Regions from separate parts of the Homo sapiens genome. Here all the other regions are linked to region 2. The links are contacts of gene promoters, found by promoter capture Hi-C in blood cells and fetal thymus (Javierre and others, 2016). All regions are on one chromosome and are shown on one strand. Each heading gives the region's core, a stretch centred on a gene start or on the middle of the fragment in contact. The rest is flanking DNA. Distances are from core to core; before and after follow the strand shown. Region 1 holds the start of ANGPTL6 (angiopoietin like 6). Region 2 holds the start of CDC37 (cell division cycle 37, HSP90 cochaperone). Region 3 overlaps ILF3 (interleukin enhancer binding factor 3). Region 4 holds the start of SHFL (shiftless antiviral inhibitor of ribosomal frameshifting).

What was found. Contacts are between HindIII fragments. The CHiCAGO score rates a contact against its expected background, and 5 or more counts as called.
Region 1: the fragment with the promoter of ANGPTL6 here is called in contact with the fragment with the promoter of CDC37 in region 2 in 12 of 17 cell types (total CD8 T cells, neutrophils, non-activated CD4 T cells and 9 more); the score reaches 8.7 in total CD8 T cells.
Region 3: a contact is called between a fragment that was not itself captured here and the fragment with the promoter of CDC37 in region 2, in 11 of 17 cell types (activated CD4 T cells, total CD8 T cells, M1 macrophages and 8 more). The highest score is 8.1, in activated CD4 T cells.
Region 4: a contact is called between the fragment with the promoter of SHFL here and the fragment with the promoter of CDC37 in region 2, in 11 of 17 cell types (total CD8 T cells, neutrophils, erythroblasts and 8 more). The highest score is 9.0, in total CD8 T cells.

What each region holds. Positions count from the first base shown.
Region 1 is chr19:10,100,133-10,104,975 of GRCh38, reverse strand. ANGPTL6 (angiopoietin like 6) reads left to right here and starts at 2,298. Exons shown (of 6, transcript NM_031917.3): 1 at 2,298-2,408. RefSeq lists enhancers at 2,119-2,168, 2,239-2,288. The HindIII fragment of the contact is 11,381 bases long and covers 368-4,843 here.
Region 2 is chr19:10,400,463-10,405,225 of GRCh38, reverse strand. It overlaps CDC37 (cell division cycle 37, HSP90 cochaperone), which reads left to right and starts at 1,684. Exons shown (of 8, transcript NM_007065.4): 1 at 1,684-1,848. The coding sequence starts at 1,747. MIR1181 (microRNA 1181) reads left to right here and starts at 1,688; the gene lies at 1,688-1,768. RefSeq lists silencers at 149-198, 1,909-1,968 and an enhancer at 1,159-1,508. The HindIII fragment of the contact is 3,760 bases long and covers 172-3,931 here.
Region 3 is chr19:10,663,995-10,668,605 of GRCh38, reverse strand. The region is part of intron 1 of ILF3 (interleukin enhancer binding factor 3); the gene reads right to left. Among named protein-coding and RNA genes, the nearest start is that of ILF3, 12 kb to the right of the region's middle. The HindIII fragment of the contact is 1,761 bases long and covers 489-2,249 here.
Region 4 is chr19:10,083,305-10,087,775 of GRCh38, reverse strand. SHFL (shiftless antiviral inhibitor of ribosomal frameshifting) reads right to left here and starts at 1,459. Exons shown (of 8, transcript NM_018381.4): 1 at 1,328-1,459; 2 at 724-847; 3 at 476-525. The coding sequence starts at 1,348. RefSeq lists silencers at 1,191-1,470, 1,541-1,760. The HindIII fragment of the contact is 8,670 bases long and covers 1-3,218 here.

The DNA.
Region 1 (4,843 bases), core at 1,049-3,548, 300 kb after region 2:
TTCCCCCAGTTCCGTCCTCGTGTGATTTGACTTGTGTGAAAATGTGACCGAGTGTGTGGGAGACAGACGGTGACCTCTGTGGTGCGGTGGATAGGTTTCCGGGTGTCAACTGTGTGTACCTGTTTTGTATCTGTGCACTACTGTGTGATCACAAGAACCAGGATGTGGACAAGCCTGACACACAGATAAAGACCCACTCAGCCCACCCCATTTCCCTTTAAGTTGTGATGTGTGTGTGACCATATTTGGAACATACAGTTGTTGCCTGAAACTGTTATGTTTCCAGCTGTGTCTTTTTAAAAATTTTTTTTAATCAATGAGATATCCTTTATTTATGAAAGCATAGTTCCAATGCAGAAGTCAAGCTTTATGGTTATATATTAGGATAGGTTCAGATCCAATATGACAATGTTTAGCACTAACTTTAACATGTTAAAGCTCTGATTCCTGAATGTTTTTCTCACTTAATATATTCTCTCCAATGACAAGCTGGTGTGCTTGGCTTCTTATGCTGAAAAATATATGCCTGAATTCTATAACAAGCTATTAACAAAATCATGAATAGTTAATTAAATAAGTGCCAACACTACATGGAACTTACTGGCCACCAACTCAGAACCATAAAACTACACACACACACACACACACACACACACACCACACACACAAACAAAACAAAAAAAACACCAAAGAAAGATAGCTATCACTGTACATATGAATACTGTCCAGGATATCAGATCAATTATCAAATCCAAGGTCTCTGGTGTTTTGTCTCACAGTGTTGAATATATGAATGCTTCTCTATTATACTGACTTGTATTATTTTCAACAAATAATTATGTGGACTCAAAATCTTACATTTTTATTTCTTTTCTTTTTTTTTTTTTTTTTTTTGAGACAGAGTCTTACTCTGTCGCCCAGGCTGGAGTGCAGTGGCTCACTGCAACCTCCGCCCCCCGGGTTCAAGCGATTCTCCTGCCTCAGCCTCCTGAGTAGCTGGGATTACAGGCATGGGCCACCACACCCGGCAAATTTTTGTATTTTTAGTAGAGACGGGGTTTCACCATCTTGGCCAGGCTGGTCTCGAATTGCTGACCTCGTGATCTGCCCACCTTGGCCTCCCAAAGTGCTGGGATTACAGGCGTGAGCCACCGCGCCCAGCCTTACATTTTTATTTCTAATTATAAAATCCAGATTAATCCAAAAAACATAAATCACATGTAACTGAGGTAGGGTTTTCACTTTAAGAATATATTGTTTCTATCACAATTTAAAAATTTACAGCTGTGTCTTTTATATTTATTTTTTATTTTAATTAATTAATTCCTCACTTTATTATTATTTATTTATTATTTATTTATTTATTTATTTATTTATTTTTGAGATGGAATTTCAGTCTTGTCGCCCAGGCTGGAGTGCATGCGGTTGCTCGATCTCGGCTTACTGCAACCTCCACCTCCTGGCTTCAAGCAATTCTCCTGCCTCAGCCTCCCGCGTAGCTGGGATTACTGGCGCATGCCACCATGCCCAGCTAATTTTTGTATTGTTAGTAGAGACGGGGTTTTAGCATGTTGGCAAGGATGGTTTCGAACTCCTGACCTCAGGTAATCCACCTGCCCCGGCCTCCCAAAGTGCTGGCTTTCAGGCATGAGCCACTGCACCCAGACTTTCGCTGGGTGTTAATGTGTGCGTGCGTGCAAATGTGTGTGTGTGTGTTTGTGTCCACTCTGTTATGTGCCCATATGTGTGTGACAGCTGTGGTGTACATGTGTGAGTTTCTGAGTCAAGCTACCTTGGCTGGCTCCCATCCTGGTCTCTTTTTGGCTGTGTGACCGCAGGCAAGTTGCTTACCCTCTCTGAGCCTCAGTTTTCCCTGCTGTAAAATGAGGGTACATACAGAATCCAGCTCAGGTTGTAAGGATCAAATACGTAAAAGGTGTGGAGAGTTTAGAGCCAAGCCCTACACACGGTAAGTCCCCAGTGATGTTCCTCTTTCTATGTGTGGTGTGTGCGTGTCTGGGGCTGGGATCACGCCTGGCTGCCCCAGGGCCTGCAGCCTCCCACGCTCTGGGCTCTGCAGTGGAGGGTGTGGGGGAAAGGGAGGGATGTCCAGGACACTGACCTGTGTTATCAGGCTCTGGTGGCCTGGGCAGGGGGGTCTGGCAATTCTGTCTCATTTCTCATTCGGGAAATGCTAAATATTTATAGTTTGGGCTCCTGGGCCCAGCATCCCAGCTCCACTCCCAGGCTCTGGGGGCTGGGGAGTGGTTACCAAGCCTCCTCTCTCCTTCTGTCCCACTGCCCTCTCCCCGTCTCTAGCTCAGAGGCCCCACTGGACCCTCGGCTCTTCCTTGGACTTCTTGTGTGTTCTGTGAGCTTCGCTGGATTCAGGGTCTTGGGCATCAGAGGTGAGAGGGTGGGAAGGTAGGTGGAGGTTGATTCTCACTGTGGGGAAACTCCGACCACAGCTTGGCTTGGGGGCCCCCAGGCCACCCCGCCACCCCAGGCTGAGAGTGTAAAAGGCAGCGGGTGTTATACACACGTCCCAGTTCTGGGGGGTTGCTCAATCTCTGTTGTGGGGGGTGGGGCATGTCAGTGATCGGGGACAAAGAGAGGACCCTACCCCCGGATCCTTGTGAGCCCCTGCTTGGTGTCTGAGTCCAGAAGTAAATGTGGCCATCTCCAGCCCAGAACCCTCCATGGCTCCTGCCTGACTCAGAGTAAAACCCAAGTCCTCCTCCGGGCCCACAGGACCCTTCACACTTTGCCCTGACACTTCTTACCTCCTCCTGCTTCCCCCTTCTCTCTTCCGGCCTCATAGACATTTCTGCCATTTCTTTTTTTTTTTTTTTTTTTTTTTGAGACAGAGTCTCGCTCTGTCACCCAGGCTGGAGTGCAGTGGCGCGATCTCAGCTCACTGCAAGCTCCGCCTTCCGGGTTCACGCCATTCTCCTGCCTCAGTCTCTGGAGTGGCTGGGGCTACAGGCGCTCGCCACCATGCCCGGCTAATTTTTTTTTTTTTTTTTGTATTTTTAGTAGAGACGGAATTTCACTGTGTTAGCCAGGATGGTCTCGATCTCCTGACCCCGTGATCCACCTGCCTTGGCCTCCCAAGTGCTGGGATTACAGGCGTGAGCCACCGCACCTGGCCTTTTTTTTTTTTTTTTTTTTGAGCCTTGCTCTGTCGCCCAGGTTGGAGTGCAATGGCGCAATCTCTGCTCACTGCAACATCGGCCTCCTGAGTTCAAGTGACTCTCCCACCTCAGCCTCCTGAGTAGTAGCTGGGATTACAGGCATGCATTACCATGCCCAGCTAATTTTTGTATTTTTAGTAGAGACGGGGTTTCACCATGTTGGCCAGGCTGGTCTTGAACTCTCGACCTCAGGTGATCCTCCCGCCTCGGCCTCCCAAAGTGCTGGGATTACAGGCGTGAGCCACCGTGCCTGGCCCCTTTCTGCCATTTCTTGGGTGCAATCTCCGGGCCTTTGCACCTGCTGTTCTCTCTGCCTGGAATGCTCTTCCTCTTCTCTCTCTTCCATCAGGTCTTTGTGAAAGTGTCCCTTATTCTTTATTTTATTTTTATTTTTATATTTAGTAGAAATGGACTTTCACCATATTGGCCAGGCTGGTCTCAAACTCCTAGGCTCAAGCAATCCTCCTGCCTTGGCCTCCCAAAGTGCTGAAATTACAGGCATGAGGCACTGTTCCAGTCAAGTGTCACTTCTTCTGTGAGGCCTTTCCTGACTCCTCTATTTTATTTTTTTTTGAGACAGAGTCTCGCTCTATTGCCCAGGCTGGAGTGCAGTGGTGCAATCATGGCTCACTGCAACCTCTGCCTTCCGGGTTCAAGTGATTCTTGTGTCTCAGCCTCCTGAGTAGCTGAGACTACAGGCGCGTGCCACTACGCCTGGCTAATTTTTGTATTTTCAGTAGAGACAGGGTTTCGCCACGTTAGCCAAGCTGGTCTCAAACTCCTGGCCTCAAGTGATCCTCCCACCTCAGCCTCCCAAAGTGCTGGGATTACAGGCACCTCGGCCTCCCAAAGTGCTGGGATTACAGGCACCTCGGCCTCCCAAAGTGCTGGGATTACAGGCGTGAGTCAGCACACCCAGTCCTGACTCCTCTATTAAATGTCCCCCACCTCCGGGACTGTCACCCCCTTGCCTGTTCCATTTTTCTCCTAAGCACGATTACCCTCTGACCTACCTAGCGGCTGTTTGACTTATTTCTCTGTTCTCCCAACTTGAATGTCAGCTCTGCAAGGGCAGGAATTTTGTCTGTTTGGGTTAAGGCTGTGTCCTCATTGCCTAAAACAGCATCCCTGGCACACAATAGGCACTCAAGGTGTCTGTGGTTGAATGCATGAATGAGGCAATGTGTGTGTGAGATGGAGACCCTCGGGATATGTGCTTGTGCAGGCATCAGGAAGCATAGGTTTAGGGCCAGTGTGGTTGCTCACATCTGTAATTTCAGCACTTTGGGAGTCCAAGGTGGGAGGATCACTTGAGCCTGGGAGTTTGAGACTAGCCTGGGCAACACAGTGAGACCCCCTCCCTACAAAAAAGTAGCTGGGCATGGTGGTGCGCACCTGTAGTTCCAACCACTCAGGAGGCTGAGGCAGGAGGACCACTTGTGTGCAGGAATTGGAGGCTACAGTGAGCTATGATTGCTCCACTGCACTCCAGCCTGGGCAACAGAGCACGACTCTCTCTTTTTTTTCTTTTTTTTTGAGATGGAGTCTCACCCAGGTTGCCTAGGCTAGAAGGCAGTGGTGCGGTCTCAGCTCACTGCAACCTCTGCCAGGTTCAAGCCGTTCTTCTGCCTCAGCCTCCCGAGTAGCTG
Region 2 (4,763 bases), core at 435-2,934:
GGGATTCTCTCCAAACACCCCCAGGCTGATGACGGGGCCGAATCCCTAAAGGGCATACGGTGGGGGTGGGGGTACGACTTTCCTGGGGAGCCGGGGAACCCCCTACCTTCCTGGCCCCCTCCCACTGTGGCACCGTGTCCCCCTCCCCACCGCAGCTCGCAGCCCCAAGCTTACCTTGCGGGGGGCCTGGGGAGGGGATGCCCCGCCCTCCCTGGCCTGGGGGGCGGGAGGGGACGGGGGTGTCCAGACCCTTTGTTTGCTGGTGTGTGTGTGTATGTGTGTGTGCGATTGTGAGAGCCGCCGGGGTGTGGGTCCGTGCGCGCGCGTGCCCGGGCCGTGACGGCCACTGATGTGCTGGACTGCCAGGGTGGAGGGGAAGAGGGAGGGGTAGGAGATGGGGACTCCCCCGCCCCTGCCCGCCCACTCGCGGGTTTGAATGAAGCGCGAGGGGGAAGGGCGGCAGCGGGAGGACGTTTTTGTCCGATGGCCCTTCCCGCTCCATGCACCGGGGAATCCTCCCCCTTCTGGAGAACTTCGCTCGCTCTCTCCAGGCACTGCCTCCAACGTCGGCTCCAGGGGAGACTAGGAAGAGGCGCCCCTCACCGGAGTGGCTGGAGCTCCTCCTATCCAGCCTGACCCCCGAGGGAGCACCCTTTAATCTGAGATAATCCTGGCCCAAGGCTGCAACACGGCCTATTATCCTGGTATCAAAGCGTGGATTGGGATGCATGGAAGTGTGAGGTGGTCGAGGCCCTGCATGCTTAGAGTAATGGAGTCCTTAGAGCCCCGGCGGAGGAAGCGTACCCCAAGACGAACGGGGAGGGGCTATGCGTGGCCCCAGACTGTGACGACAAGGAAAGCCCCCTTCCACCCCTCCACGATTCCCCCCACCAAGCGCGGGGCCAGGAATACGCGCCGTGGGCTAGACTCTAGCGACACCCAGCGGCCAGCGGGGTGGGGAGCCGAGACCCGTTTTGAGGGGGTCCGGGTGATTCCAAAGTGTGTGTGTGTGTGTGTGTGCGTGTGTGTGTGTGTGTGTGTGTGTGTGCGCGCGCGCGCTCGCGCGAGTCCTCGCTGCGAATGGCAGGAGGTGGAAGACAAGGAGAAGGCTGTTGCCGAGGCGGGGAAACCCCAGCTCCCAAGGCAGGGCCACAGTCTCCCCTCCACGTTTAACCCTGCAAGGGGAGGGCCATACCACCCCCGATTTAGACACCCCCAGGGCAGGTCCAGTCCTCCTCGGGCTGAGAAAGTCCGAGGAGTCATCAGGCGCCCCTCTCCAGCGCAGGCTTAGGTCCCCGTTTACGAAGGGCAGGGGGAGGGCCTTCCCGCCGTGTCCCTACCCCTTGCAGACGTCACTGCGGCGTGGCTGAGGGGACAGTCCTCTCAGTCTCATCAACCGTCCCCTCCCTGCCACCCCAAACGCCCACCGTGGAGCGGCGGGAGATGAGGGGGGCTCGGAGTTGAAGCGCGCACTCATATGCCCCCAGGAGACCTAGCGGAGCCCCAGCGCCCGATGACGCGGAGTCTCTGCGGGAACTCCAGGGGGCCGGAACACTTACGCAGGGCCCTTTAAGGCTGGCTGGGTAGCTAGTGCCGCTGCCGCGGTTACTAGGGATGTGACGTCACACAGGGCGGGGTTTCCCGCGCTCGGCGGAAGCGGAAGGGGCGGGGCTCCGCGCTCCTAGTCTCCACTGCTGCCGCCGTCGCCGCCACCCGAGCCGGAGCGGGCTGGGCCGCCAAGGCAAGATGGTGGACTACAGCGTGTGGGACCACATTGAGGTGTCTGATGATGAAGACGAGACGCACCCCAACATCGACACGGCCAGTCTCTTCCGCTGGCGGCATCAGGTAAGGCGCGCGCGCCCATCCCTTTCCCCACTCCCGGACCCCGCTTCGGAGTTGTGATCCCCGATACTGCCCAGGGACCCCGCTGTTCACACCTAGGATTCTCACCCCCCCAGTCTGGATTTTCAGGAGCTTCGATTCAACTCCGGGACCCCAGTACCATTGGGACCCTGAGTCCCTGCCCTGGATCTCCGCTCCCCCACTCCCTGCTCCGATTTTTGCGTGGGATTCCCTATTCACCCCCTAGAACTTCTTCATAGTCTGGAGTCCCCTAGACGAGTCTTGGGGGTTCTCCCTAATTCTGTTCGGCAGTTAACATTTATACCCAGAACTCTGCCTCAAAGTTTGGACCCCAAATTCTTCTAGATGATCCCTCATCCTATTCGGGTATTCACTTCCTATCTGGGATCTCCCATCGCCCCCCCACCTCCGTAGTCTGGACCCCCAATACTTTGGTCTGTCCCGGGATCTACTTTCCGGGATCTTGATCCGGGGTTCCCATTCAGATCCGGAGTCGCCACTCCTTTTCTAAACGGAACAAGGAACTCTGTGCTACTCTGATATTCCTGTCCCTGCCCACACCCAGGACCCCCTTCCTAGAGTGTAGAACCGTCCCCCTTCAGGATCCTTAGTCTCACCGAGTACTTGGGTTTTGGAATCTGGTTCCCCTCTGGATCTAACTACCAGCTCCAACCCGATAGAGCCTCACATTCCAGCCTCTCCTTTGGCCTCCGGTAGACCCATTTCCCATTATACCAGGAAATCCTGCCCACGTGGCTTCCGGCCTAGCCAGAGCCCCTGCTCCTACTTGGTATTGCAGACCCTGTCACCACCCACTTCCCAGACTGGCTTCCTGTATGAGCCTCAGCCAGCATTGGAAACTCTCCCCTAACTCAAGCCCAGAACCCCAAACCCACCCCACCTTTTGTCCCCAGCCTGTTAGCTACTCTGTGACCCAAATTGTCCCTGCTCTTATCCAGGGACTCTCCTGGTCTGATTCTAAATTCACCACCCCTTCTTCTATCTGACCACAACAGAGGTCCCGAATCCAGACCCCAGAATCCCAAGCCTGGGTGATCCATGTCCCACCACCCTCTCAGTGCTCACGAGCCAATGGGATGACTAAGACTTAAAGGTTTAACCTCCTGCTACCCCAAATGAGTGTGCCTGCATTACATACCAGTGTCTGTTGTATTCCTTTTTTTTTTTTTTTTTTTTTTTTTGAGACGAAGTTTCCTTCTTGTCGCCCAGGCTGGAGTGCAGTGGCACAATCTTGGCTCACTGCAACCTCTGCCTCCCGGGTTCAAGTGATTCTCCTGCCTCAGCCTCCTGAGTAGCTGGGATTACAGGCATGATGCACCACCATGCCTGGCTAATTTTGTATTTTTGGTAGAGACAGGGTTTCTCCATGTTGGTCAGGCTGGTCTTGAACTTCCGACCTCAGTTGATCCACCCACCTCGGCCTCCCAAAGTGCTGGGATTACAGGCGTGAGCCACCGCACCCAGCCATGTTGTGCTCTTAAACGAAGGGCATATACCTCTCAGAACCTTCTAGTGAGGATCTCTTACCCCACCCTCCCATAGGGCAATTCCCCATCATTTATCCAGAAACAACTAGAAGGTCCCTTTCCCATCCTTCCAGAATACTCTGGAATACGGCATTAGTCTCTTCATCTAGCTCCCAGTCCCACTTCCAGACCTATTCCTTAAATCCTGAGTCTCCTGGGTAGTGTACCTGCCAAGCAAGCCACTGGAGTGTGGGAAGAAAGTTCTAGCGCTTCTATTTCTTGCCGTGTGTAACATTTTATTATGAAATATTTAAGACTTCCTCAAAGCTCCAAAGACTATTCTTGGGAAGACCTATTTCTGTCACATAAAGAGGTTAATCTTTACTACTGTGGAGAATGGTTTGGTCCTGCCGGGTGGGAGGGCCCCCCTCCTGCAGCGTAGTGTACCTGCCACACCCTCCTCCCTCTGGCACAGAGCTTTTCCTGTCCTGCCGCTGAGAACCCCGGTGGTTGTAGTGGCATGTAAGGGAGGCAGGGGGCTTCAGCGTCTCCAGCACAGGTTCAAGGACAGGCAAGCTTGGGTTCCAATCCTAGCCCCACCTCTTGCTGCTTCTTTCTTTCTTTGATGTGGCAAGACTCACAAGAAGCCTCCCTGAGCCCATGTGAAACCTGGGATAATATGGCCCCACCTCCCTGAGACCTTTGTAAGAATGAATTAAGACTGGGTCAGGAAAACTTGGGGCAGGTTTGGAAGGAAGCATTGTGGAGGGGAAGGAGAGATTGCTGTCGTTCAGAGCACAGGCCTGACTAGGTTCAAATCTCAGCTCTGTCTGTATCACTCACGTGCTGCGTGACTGCCAGGGAGCTGTTTGATCGCTCTGTGCCTCAGTTTCCCTACCTGAGAATCTGAATGATGTCCACCCCATAAGGTTGTTGTAAGGCTTACCTTATTCATTTAATATTTGTAATCCTTTTGGGGCAGTGGCTATTATCATCATCATCATTTAAATAATTTCTGTTCATGGTTAAAAAAAAAAAAATCTGTAGCCACATGTGGTGGCACATGCCTATAGTCCTAGCTACTCAGGAGACTGAGGCAGAAGGATCATTTGAGCCCAGAAGTTCAAGTCCAGCCTGAGCAACATAGCAAGACCTTGTCTCTCTCTTTTTTTTTTCGAGACAGGGCCTTGCTTTGTCACCCTGAGATGGCAGTGGCGCCATCTCAGCTCACTGCAACTTCCACCTTCCGGGCTCAAGTGATCCTCCTACTTCTGCCTCCTGAGTAGCTGGGACCACAGGTACACACCACCATGCCTGGTTGATTTTTGTACTTTTTGGTAGAGACAGGGTTTCACCATGTTGCCCAGGCTGGTCTCAAACTGCTGAGCTCAGGCAATCCACCTGCCTCAG
Region 3 (4,611 bases), core at 120-2,619, 260 kb before region 2:
ACACTTTAGGGAGGCCGAGGCAGAGGCATCACCTGAGGTCGCGAGTTCAAGATCAGCCTGGCCAACATGGTGAAACCCTGTCTCTATTAAATATACAAAAAATGAGTCGGGTGTGGTAGCACATGCTTGTAATCCTAGCTATTCAGGAGGCTGAGGCCTGAGAATTGCTTGAACCTGGGAGGCGGAGGTTACGGTGAGTCGAGATCACACCATTGCACTCCAGCCTGGGTGACAAGAGCAAAACTCTGTCTCATTTAAAACAAAACAAAACAAAAAACCCCTAGGAGTCAAATGATGCCCCTGCAAAGCCCAGCAACAGGACATGGTGAGGTCAAAGGCTTCATGTCAGGGTAGGGATGCAGGAGGGAAGGAGTGTGAGGGGGCATGGGATGAAAAGGGCAGAAAGCCAGTCCCTGGGCTCAGTGGCTCAACATGCCTGAGACTCACACCATGGGGCAAGCCACTCGATCGATCGCCCAAGGAAAGCTTCTGCACAGACTTGGACCTGAAACCCCACTTGCCCAGCCACTAGCTTCCTTCTTGCATTAGCAACACGGAAGAGGCCCCTCTACTCTCGGCAGGACTAGGAAAATGAAACAAGTCAACCTACTTGAAGCATGCAGCACATATCCCATAGACCTAACAATTGGTACTAGATCCTACTGTTGAAAAAAATCTGCCTTCCCAGGCTGCAATGAGGGCCAGGCGTGAGTGATGTGTGTGCAAAGGGCATCCTCTCCTCCATCACCCATGTCTCTTCACCGAGCCAGAGTCAAGCTCCACAGGGCCTTCTTTCGCCACTGATTCTGCCAAGCCTGTTCCCTTGGCTATGGTTTCCCTGGATAGTCGCAACGACACTGGGAATCTTGTTCATGAAGTGAATCCTTATGAAGGAATTATAGTTACTTCAGTTAGGGGAATAATACTGTGGTTGTGCTGGAAAGAACCAACTTTAACTGTTCCACACATATTTAAGACAAATTTATGGCTAAAATTATATACCTGGTATTTGCTCTGAAATATACCAGGGAGCAGAAAGTAGAGAAGGATGAGGCCGGGCGTGGTGGCTCACGCCTGTAATCCCAGCACTTTGGGAGGCCAAGGCGGGCGGATCACGAAGTCAGGAGATCGAGACCATCCTGGCTAACACGGTGAAACCTCGTCTCTACTAAAAATACAAAAAATTAGCCAGGCATGGTGGTGGGTGCCTGTAGTCCCAGCTATAGGGAGGCTGAGGCAGGAGAATGGCATGATCCCGGGAGGCAGAGCTTGCAGTGAGTGAGCCGAGATCGTGCCACTGCACTCCAGCCTGGGCGACAGAGCAAGACTCCGTCTCCAAAAAAAAAAAAAAAGGAAAGTAGAGAAGGATGAAACAAGACTGTAGAACACTGACAGCTGTTGAAGCTGGGTGATGGATACTGTAATTCTTTTGTGCATGTTTTAAAAATTCCATAATAGATTTTTTGTTCTTAATTATTTGTAGAGATGGGTTGCTGCCATGTTGCGTGGGCTGGTCTCAAACTCCTGGGCTCAAGTGATCCTCCCAGTTCAGTCTCCCAAAGTGCTGGGATTACAGGTGTGAGCCACGATGCAAAGCCAACACTTTTTGTTTTTTTGAGAGAGTCTTGCTCTGTCGCCCAGGCTGGAATGCAGTGGTGTGATCTCGGCTCACTGTAATCTCTGCCTGCCAGTTTCAGGCAATTCTCCTGTCTCAGCCTCCCTAGTAGCTGGGACTACAGGTGTGTGTCGCCACACCCGGCGAATTTTTGTATTTTTAGTAGGGACAGGGTTTCACTATGTTCACCAGGCTGGTCTTGAACTCCTTGACCTCCTTGAACTGGGGAGGAGACTGCCATGAGCCGAGATTGCACCACTGAACTCCAGCCTACCTGACACAGCAAGAGAATGTCTCGAAATAAATAAATAAACAAAAATATAACAACAACAAAAACCTACTGAAAGCAGCTCCCGGGAGAAGTGGACCGTAATCTGCAGCAGGGGATATACCAAGTGAGCCTGGATCCTACCGGAGCGCCAGAAAGCAACAAAGCACTGGTGACTATAGCAGTCTTGTCCTGAGGACATCGGAGCTGACTTGTGAGGTGTCCCACTGGCTACATTTGGAACAAATTCAAAAAGAATCATGCTTCCACCTACATAAAGTTCTAGAATAAGCGAAACTAATCAGTGATGGGACAGCCTCTGGGGAACGGTGGTAGGGATCACATGGGAAGGGGCCCTCCCAAGCTTTCTGAGATGAAGGTTACATTCTCCCTCCTGACAAGAGTTGGGTATATGCAGTGGCCAGAATTCACTGACTGGTATACTAAAGATCTGTGCATTATTTAAAAAGAAAAAAGAGGCTGGGCATGGTGGCTCACCACGTTGGGAGCAGCACTTGTCAGGAGTTCAAGACCAGCCTGAGTGAATCTACAAAAAAAATTTTTAAAGAAAAAAATAAAAACCTAGCTGCAAATAAATACTAAATTCTTGTTAGTATGTAGAGGGAAGATTAGAACTTTCTGTTATTTAGTTGGAAATGCATCATAAAAATAAAGTGAGGCAGGAGCAGTGGCTCACGCCTGTTATCACAGCACTTTGGGAGGCCAAGGCACTTGAGCACAGTAGTTCGAGGCCAACTTGGGCAACATAATCAGACCTGGTCTCCAAAAAAATTTTTTTTTAAATTAGCCAGGTAGGCAGGGCGCGGTGGCTCATGCCTGGAATCCCAGCACTTTGGGAGGCTGAGGCAGGTGGATCACCTGAGGTCGGGAGTTTGAGACCAGCCTAACCAACACGGCAAAACCCCGTCTCTATTAAAAATACAAAATTAGCTGGGCATTGGTGGCACGTGCCTGTAGTCCCAGCTACTCGGGAGGCTGAGGCAGGAGAATCGCTTGAACCCAGGAGGCGGAGGTTGCAGTGAGCCGAGATCACACCATTGCACTCCAGCCTGGGCAACAAGAGCGAAACTCCTTCTTAAAAAAAAAGAAAAAAAAAATTAGCCAGGTATGGTGGCACCTGCCGTTAATTTCAGCTACTCAGGAGGCTGAGGGAGGAGGATCACTTGAGCCCAGGAGATGGAGGCTGCAGTAAGCCAAGACTGTGCTACTGCACTCCAGCCTGGGCAAAAAAAGTGTGTGAGACCCTGACCCCCGCCACCCCAAAAAAGAACTGTAAATAAATATTAAATTCTAGTTAATAATATGTAGAGGGAAGACTTGCAACTTCCTGCTACTTAGTTTGAAATGCATCATCAAAATAAAGTGGCCAGGCGCAGTGGCTCACACCTGTAATACCAACACTTTGGGAGGCCAAAGGTGGGTGGATCACCTGAGGTCAGGAGTTCGAGACCAGCCTGACCAACATGGTGAAACCCTGTCTCTACTAAAAATACAAAAATTAGCTGGGCGTAGTGGAGTGCACCTGTAATCCCAGCTACCCAGGAGGCTAAGGCAGAAGAATCGTTGGAACCAGGGAGGCTGAGGCTGCAGTGAGCTGAGATCGCGCCATTGCACTCCAGCCTGGGCGACAGAGCAAGACTCTGTCTCAAAATATAAAAATAAAATAAAAAACAAAAATAAAATTTAAAAAAATATATACAAAAATATATATACATATATTTGGCCAGGCATAGTGGTTCACGCCTATAACCCCAACACTTTGGGAGGCTGAGACGCGAGGACTGCTTAAGCACAGGAGTTTGAGATGGCACTGAGCTATGACTGTACCACTGCACTCCAGCCTGGGCAACAAAAGTGTAACCCTGTCTCTGATCAATCAATAAAGTGAAAAGTGAAAAGAATTATAAGTGGATGGACAAATATGTGAAACACAAGCAGTTAAATGCCCACAGCAAAACCTAGGCTGTGCATACAGGTAGGTGTTCATTAAATTTTTTATTTTATTATTATTATATTTTGAAGTGCAGTTTAACTCTTGTTGCCCAGGCTGGAGTGCAACAGCACGATCTCGGTTCACTGCAACCTCTGCCTCCCAGGTTCAAGAGACTGTCCTGCCTCAGCCTCCCAAGTAGCTGGGATTACAGACATGCACCACCACACCTGGCTAATTTTTTTTTGTATTTTTAGTAGAGACGGGGTTTCATCACATTTGTCAGGCTGGTCTCGAACTCCTGACCTCAAGTGATCTGCCTGCCTCGGCCTCCCAAAGTGCTGGAATTACAAAGGCGTTGAGCCACTGCGCCCAGCTTAAATTTTTTATTATTATTATTTTTGAAACGGACTCTCACTGTGTTGCCCAGGCTGGAGCGGAGTGGCGCGATCTCGGCTCACTGCAACCTCCGCCTCCCAGGTTCAAGTGATTCTCCTGCCTCAGCTTCCCGGATAGCTGGGATTACAGGCACCTACCACCATGCCAGGCTAACTTTTGTATTTTTAGTAGAGACGGGGGTTTCAACATGTTGGCCAGGCTGGTCTCAAACTCCTGACCTCAAATGATCTGCCCACCTCGGCCTCCCAAAGTGCTGGGATTACAGGCAGTGAGCCACTGCCCCCGGCCTAAGTGTTCACTAAAATTGTATCACCCTTTTTTCTATGTTTGAACATTTTCAAAAGATGTTACTAAAATAAAACAGATTCAACACATTAA
Region 4 (4,471 bases), core at 210-2,709, 320 kb after region 2:
CTGCTCATCCTAGCCTTTCTAGAGACTGCCACTAACAACCCTTCCCCACCTCCCAGCCTTTGCTTATGCCATTCCCTCCCCCACCCCAAGACCCCTGCCTTTCTTTCCCTTTCCCCTCCCAGGGCTCACTCCTCCCCATCCTTTAAGACTTGGTACCTCCTCCTCCAGTAAGCCTTCTCTGACCTCTGCGCCCCCGCTATGATGGCAATAATCCTGGCTCCTTTCATTGCTTAGTTTCATGGCTCTCTCCCCCATTGAATACAATCAGCACATAATGAGCGCCTACTGTTTGCAGGCTCCCTGGCCGGACAAATGATGGAGAGGTGAAAAAGTGAGATTGGGTGATGAGTTATGGACCGACAATGCCTGGTCCCTCCTGTTTCAGAGGGGGGTCAGTCACCATGAACGGGTCGGGTCCCCCCTCTTGCTCTCCCTCCCGTGACCCGGTCCTTTGCGAGGGGAGGGGATAGGTTACCTGGGCATCCAGATCGTTACTTAGTTCTTGGCCATCTTTTTGCTTTACCCCTGCGGGGGAGAGTGCATATAAGGGAAGGGCCCTTGAAGGGTCTGTGGGAGTTCCAGGCCACCCAGAGCCGCGACGCAGAGCCTCCCCAAGGCTGGGACCTCCGGGGGAGGTGATCTCAACGCCTCTCCCTAGACCACGCCCCCTCGGCGCTCCCACGCGCGGTCCCCGCACCAGGCCCGGGACCCCTGCAGCCTCACCGTACACGATGGAGCGCCCCACTCCCGTGTGGTCGCTGCCGAATTTCCTCATCAGAGCCCCCGCCTTCTTGGAGGATACCTTCCCATGAAACTTCTCCCGGAGGCGCCGGACGCTCTTCTCCAGCTGGGATGGAGACAGGGGGGTTCCGGTGGGGGAAGGGGAAACGGGATCATCCCTCCCCCATCTCTAGGCACCGTTCTCCCGGCCCGAACTTGACCCTTGGTTTTGGCCTCCGCCGCCCCCCCCCCGCCTTTCATCCCTTTACGGCATTTCCTGGAAAAAGCCAAAGTCCCCACAGGGCGTTGGGGGAAGGCGCGGACTGGGGCGAGCGTCCCAGCCTAAGGTGTGGGGGGGCGGCCAGGTTATCTCTGGCCTCTGACCTTTGACCCTGCAGCCCCCGCTTTTCCTCGGGGAGGCCTCATTTCGCTCTGGGGAAACGTGGGAGTCACTTTCCTTTTCAAGGGGGGCGAGCGCCAGGCAGGGGTAAGGATCTGGGGTTCTAGGATGGGGGTCCCCAGGAACTGCGAAGCCCCCTCCGCGCCTCCCGGCCGCTCCTCGGGGTCTGTCGCGGCTGACCCCGGCCCAGCCGTAGCCATCGCTTACCTCCACACCTTCCTGAGACATGGTGGCGGCGGCGCAGTTCCCCGCGAGGGTCCGCACTGCGCGGCTCAGCCGCCCCCCTACCTGGGTGCGCCCGTCGGTCCAGCAGCCGCGCAGGGCAGGGGGCGGTGCCTCGGGGCCGGCTCCGCCCTTCCTCCCCGGCCCCTGTTTCGCTTTCGATTCAGGGGGGACCCGGCGCGCTGGCTCCGCCCTGGCTCCGCCTCTGCTCTTGCGCCCCAAACCCAGGCGGGCGCCCCGGGTCTGCACCCTGCGGCGGAGCGCGCAGACCTCGGACGGGGGAGGCGGCGCGGCCTCTGCAGTCGGTCACATGTCCCCACGCTGCGCGGGGTCCGCGTCTTCACGTCCCTCGTGGGGGCGGGGCCGCATCAGAAGGCCGCGGCGAGGCCCCGCGCCCCCCCACCCAGCGCGCGCTCCCCCAGTTCATCACCCTCCTCTCTGTTCTCCCTCCTTCCCCGGGAATCTGGCGCTCATGAGGACCTGGGCCCTTTTCCTGCCCTGAGTCTCTGTCCTAGCTACGGTCACCTCTCTCAACCTCAGTTTACCCCTCTGTGAAATGGGGAGAATCCTGGTGTCTACACCATGGAGTGGAGTATGTGCCAAGATTCCCGAGTGGATCGCGTAATAGCGCCTGGCTTGCAGTAGGCGTTCAACTAGTCACTGGGCCACCTGCTGTGTGCCCTTGATAGGGGCAGGCAGTGTGTGTGTGGTTGGGGGGAGCGGTGCTTGAGAAAAATACAGATTCTTGGTCTCTAGTAGCCCGGTAGAATCCGGCTGTCTCAGGGATCCAGGGAATCTGCAATGGTTAAGAACCCCGTGGGACGGACAATTCTAACCCAGTACAGGGCACATCAGGGAGCCCTTAGGTGGTGGGGCTCTGGCCCAGCCTGGGGACACAGAGATGGCAACTTCATTGGAGGAGGGGATGCTTTGTAGAGTCACTGAAATTGGAGGTCTTAGCTAGGGGAGGAATAGAGTGGGGAGATGAGGCAGCCGTGCAGAGCCCCCAAAGCAAGACTAAGTCTGGGGTTTTTGGGCAATGGCTTCTCAAGCCCAGCACTCTTGACACTTTGGGCGGCCTAGTTCTTTGTGTGGGGGACTGTCCTGTGTATTGGGGGACATTTAACACCATCCCTGGCCTCCACCCACTAGATGCCAGTGGTTCCCTACTCTCCCTGTTGTGACTACCAAAAACGTCTCCAGAGACTGCCGGATACTCTCTGAGGAGCAAAATAGCATTGTGTTCAACGACTCCAAATTTTTTTCTCCATTGCACACCCCTATAGGTAAAAGTGTTAAAGTTACACCCCCAGATGGATATTTATTCATTTATTTATTTTTTGAGACAAGATCTTGCTCTGTTGCCCAGGCTGGAGTGCAGTGGTTTGATGGTGGCTCACTGCAGCCTCTAACTCCTGGGCTCAAACGATCCTCCTGCCTCAGCCTGCTAAGTAGCTGGGACTACTGGCATATGCCACTATGCCTGGTTAATTTTCTATTTTTTTTGTAGAGACGGGGTCTCACTATGTTGCCCAGGCTGGTCTCAAACTCCTGGCCTCAAAGATGGATATTATTTATAAATTATATACAAATACAATTATATCAATATATTCTGTTAACTGTTATATAAAATATTGATAGATAAATGGAGCTGGGCATGATGGTTCACACCTGTAATGCTAGCACTTTGGGAGGTCAAGGTGGGAGAATCACTGGAGGTCAGGAGTTCAAAACCAGCCTGGGCAACATAGCAAGACCTTGTCTTTAAAAAAAGAAAAAAGAAAAGGAAAAAGTTATTTTTAAAAGACTAAAAAACAAACAATAAAACCCCCCAAATCTAGATATTCTAAAGTTTTTCCAGTTGAACCCCAAAGCTTTGTTTATAGGGTGTATGTACTCCACTCTGGAGACTACTGTATTTGCAAACTACAAGCAGTTCATGATTCCTTGTGGCTGAATGGTGGAATCCTAGGCAGGATGGGGGCTGGAAACTGCACAGAAGACCTGGGATTTTATCCTGAGGGAAGTGGCGAGGTTTGGAGTGGATCGCCTGTCATAGTTGCCAGTTACTAATCTATTTGCCCAGTGCAGAGGGAGGTCATAGCTATGTCCCATTCACTGGCCGAGATGGGCACTGAGTGGGCAGGAAACAGGTAAGAGTCTGAGCTAGCCCTGACATAAATCAGATCTGGTAGGTTTTTTGTTTTTTGATTTTTTTTTTTAGCGCAGAATATGCAGACCAAAGGTCTGTTAGGTTATAATCACCGTGGCAACCACATAGAGCGTGTACTCTGTTCCCAATGCTGTTCCAGGCACTGTGGACATGACAGCAAACAAAACAAAGATCCCTGCCCTCGTAGAGCTAGCATTTTTTTAAATTTGTTTTAAGAGACGGGGTCTCACTCTGTCACCCAGGCTGGCGTGCAGTGGCACAATCATAGCTCCGCTGCAGCCTCAACCTCCTGAGCTCAAGCAATCCTCCGGCCTTGGCCTTCTGAGTAGCTGGGACTGCAGGTATGTGCCACCACATCCGGCTAATTTGTTTGTTATTTTGTTGTTGTTTTGTTTGGGTTTTGTTTTTGTTTTGAGACAGAGTCTTGCTCTGTCACCCAGGTTGCAGTGCAGTGGCACGATCTCGGCTCGCTGCAACCTCTGCCTCCCGGGTTCAGGCAATTCTCCTGCCTCAGCCTCCCGAGTAGTTGGGACTACATGCATGTGCCACCACTCCCGGCTAATTTTTATACTTTTTTGTAGAGCTGGGGGCGGGGGGGTCTCACTATGTTGCCCAGGCTGGTCTTGAACCCCTGGGCTTAAGTGATCCTGTTGCCTTGGCCTCCCAAAATGCTGGGATTTCAGGTGTGAGTCACTGCACCTGGTCCATCCTTATGATTTCATGTGGTCTTTGTAGCTTAGGACTTGAGAAATGGCTTTGCTGCTGGGCTGTTCTGGCTCAGGGCCTCTCAGAAGGTTGCAGTTAAGGAGTTGGTCAGGGCTTCAGTCATCTGAAGGTTTGACGGGGGCTGGCGAATCTGCTTCCAAGGTGGCTCACTCTCAGGGCATGCAGATGGGTGCTATGATTGGCGGGATGCCTCGATTCCTCCCAGTATACTTGAGTGGCATGAGTGTACT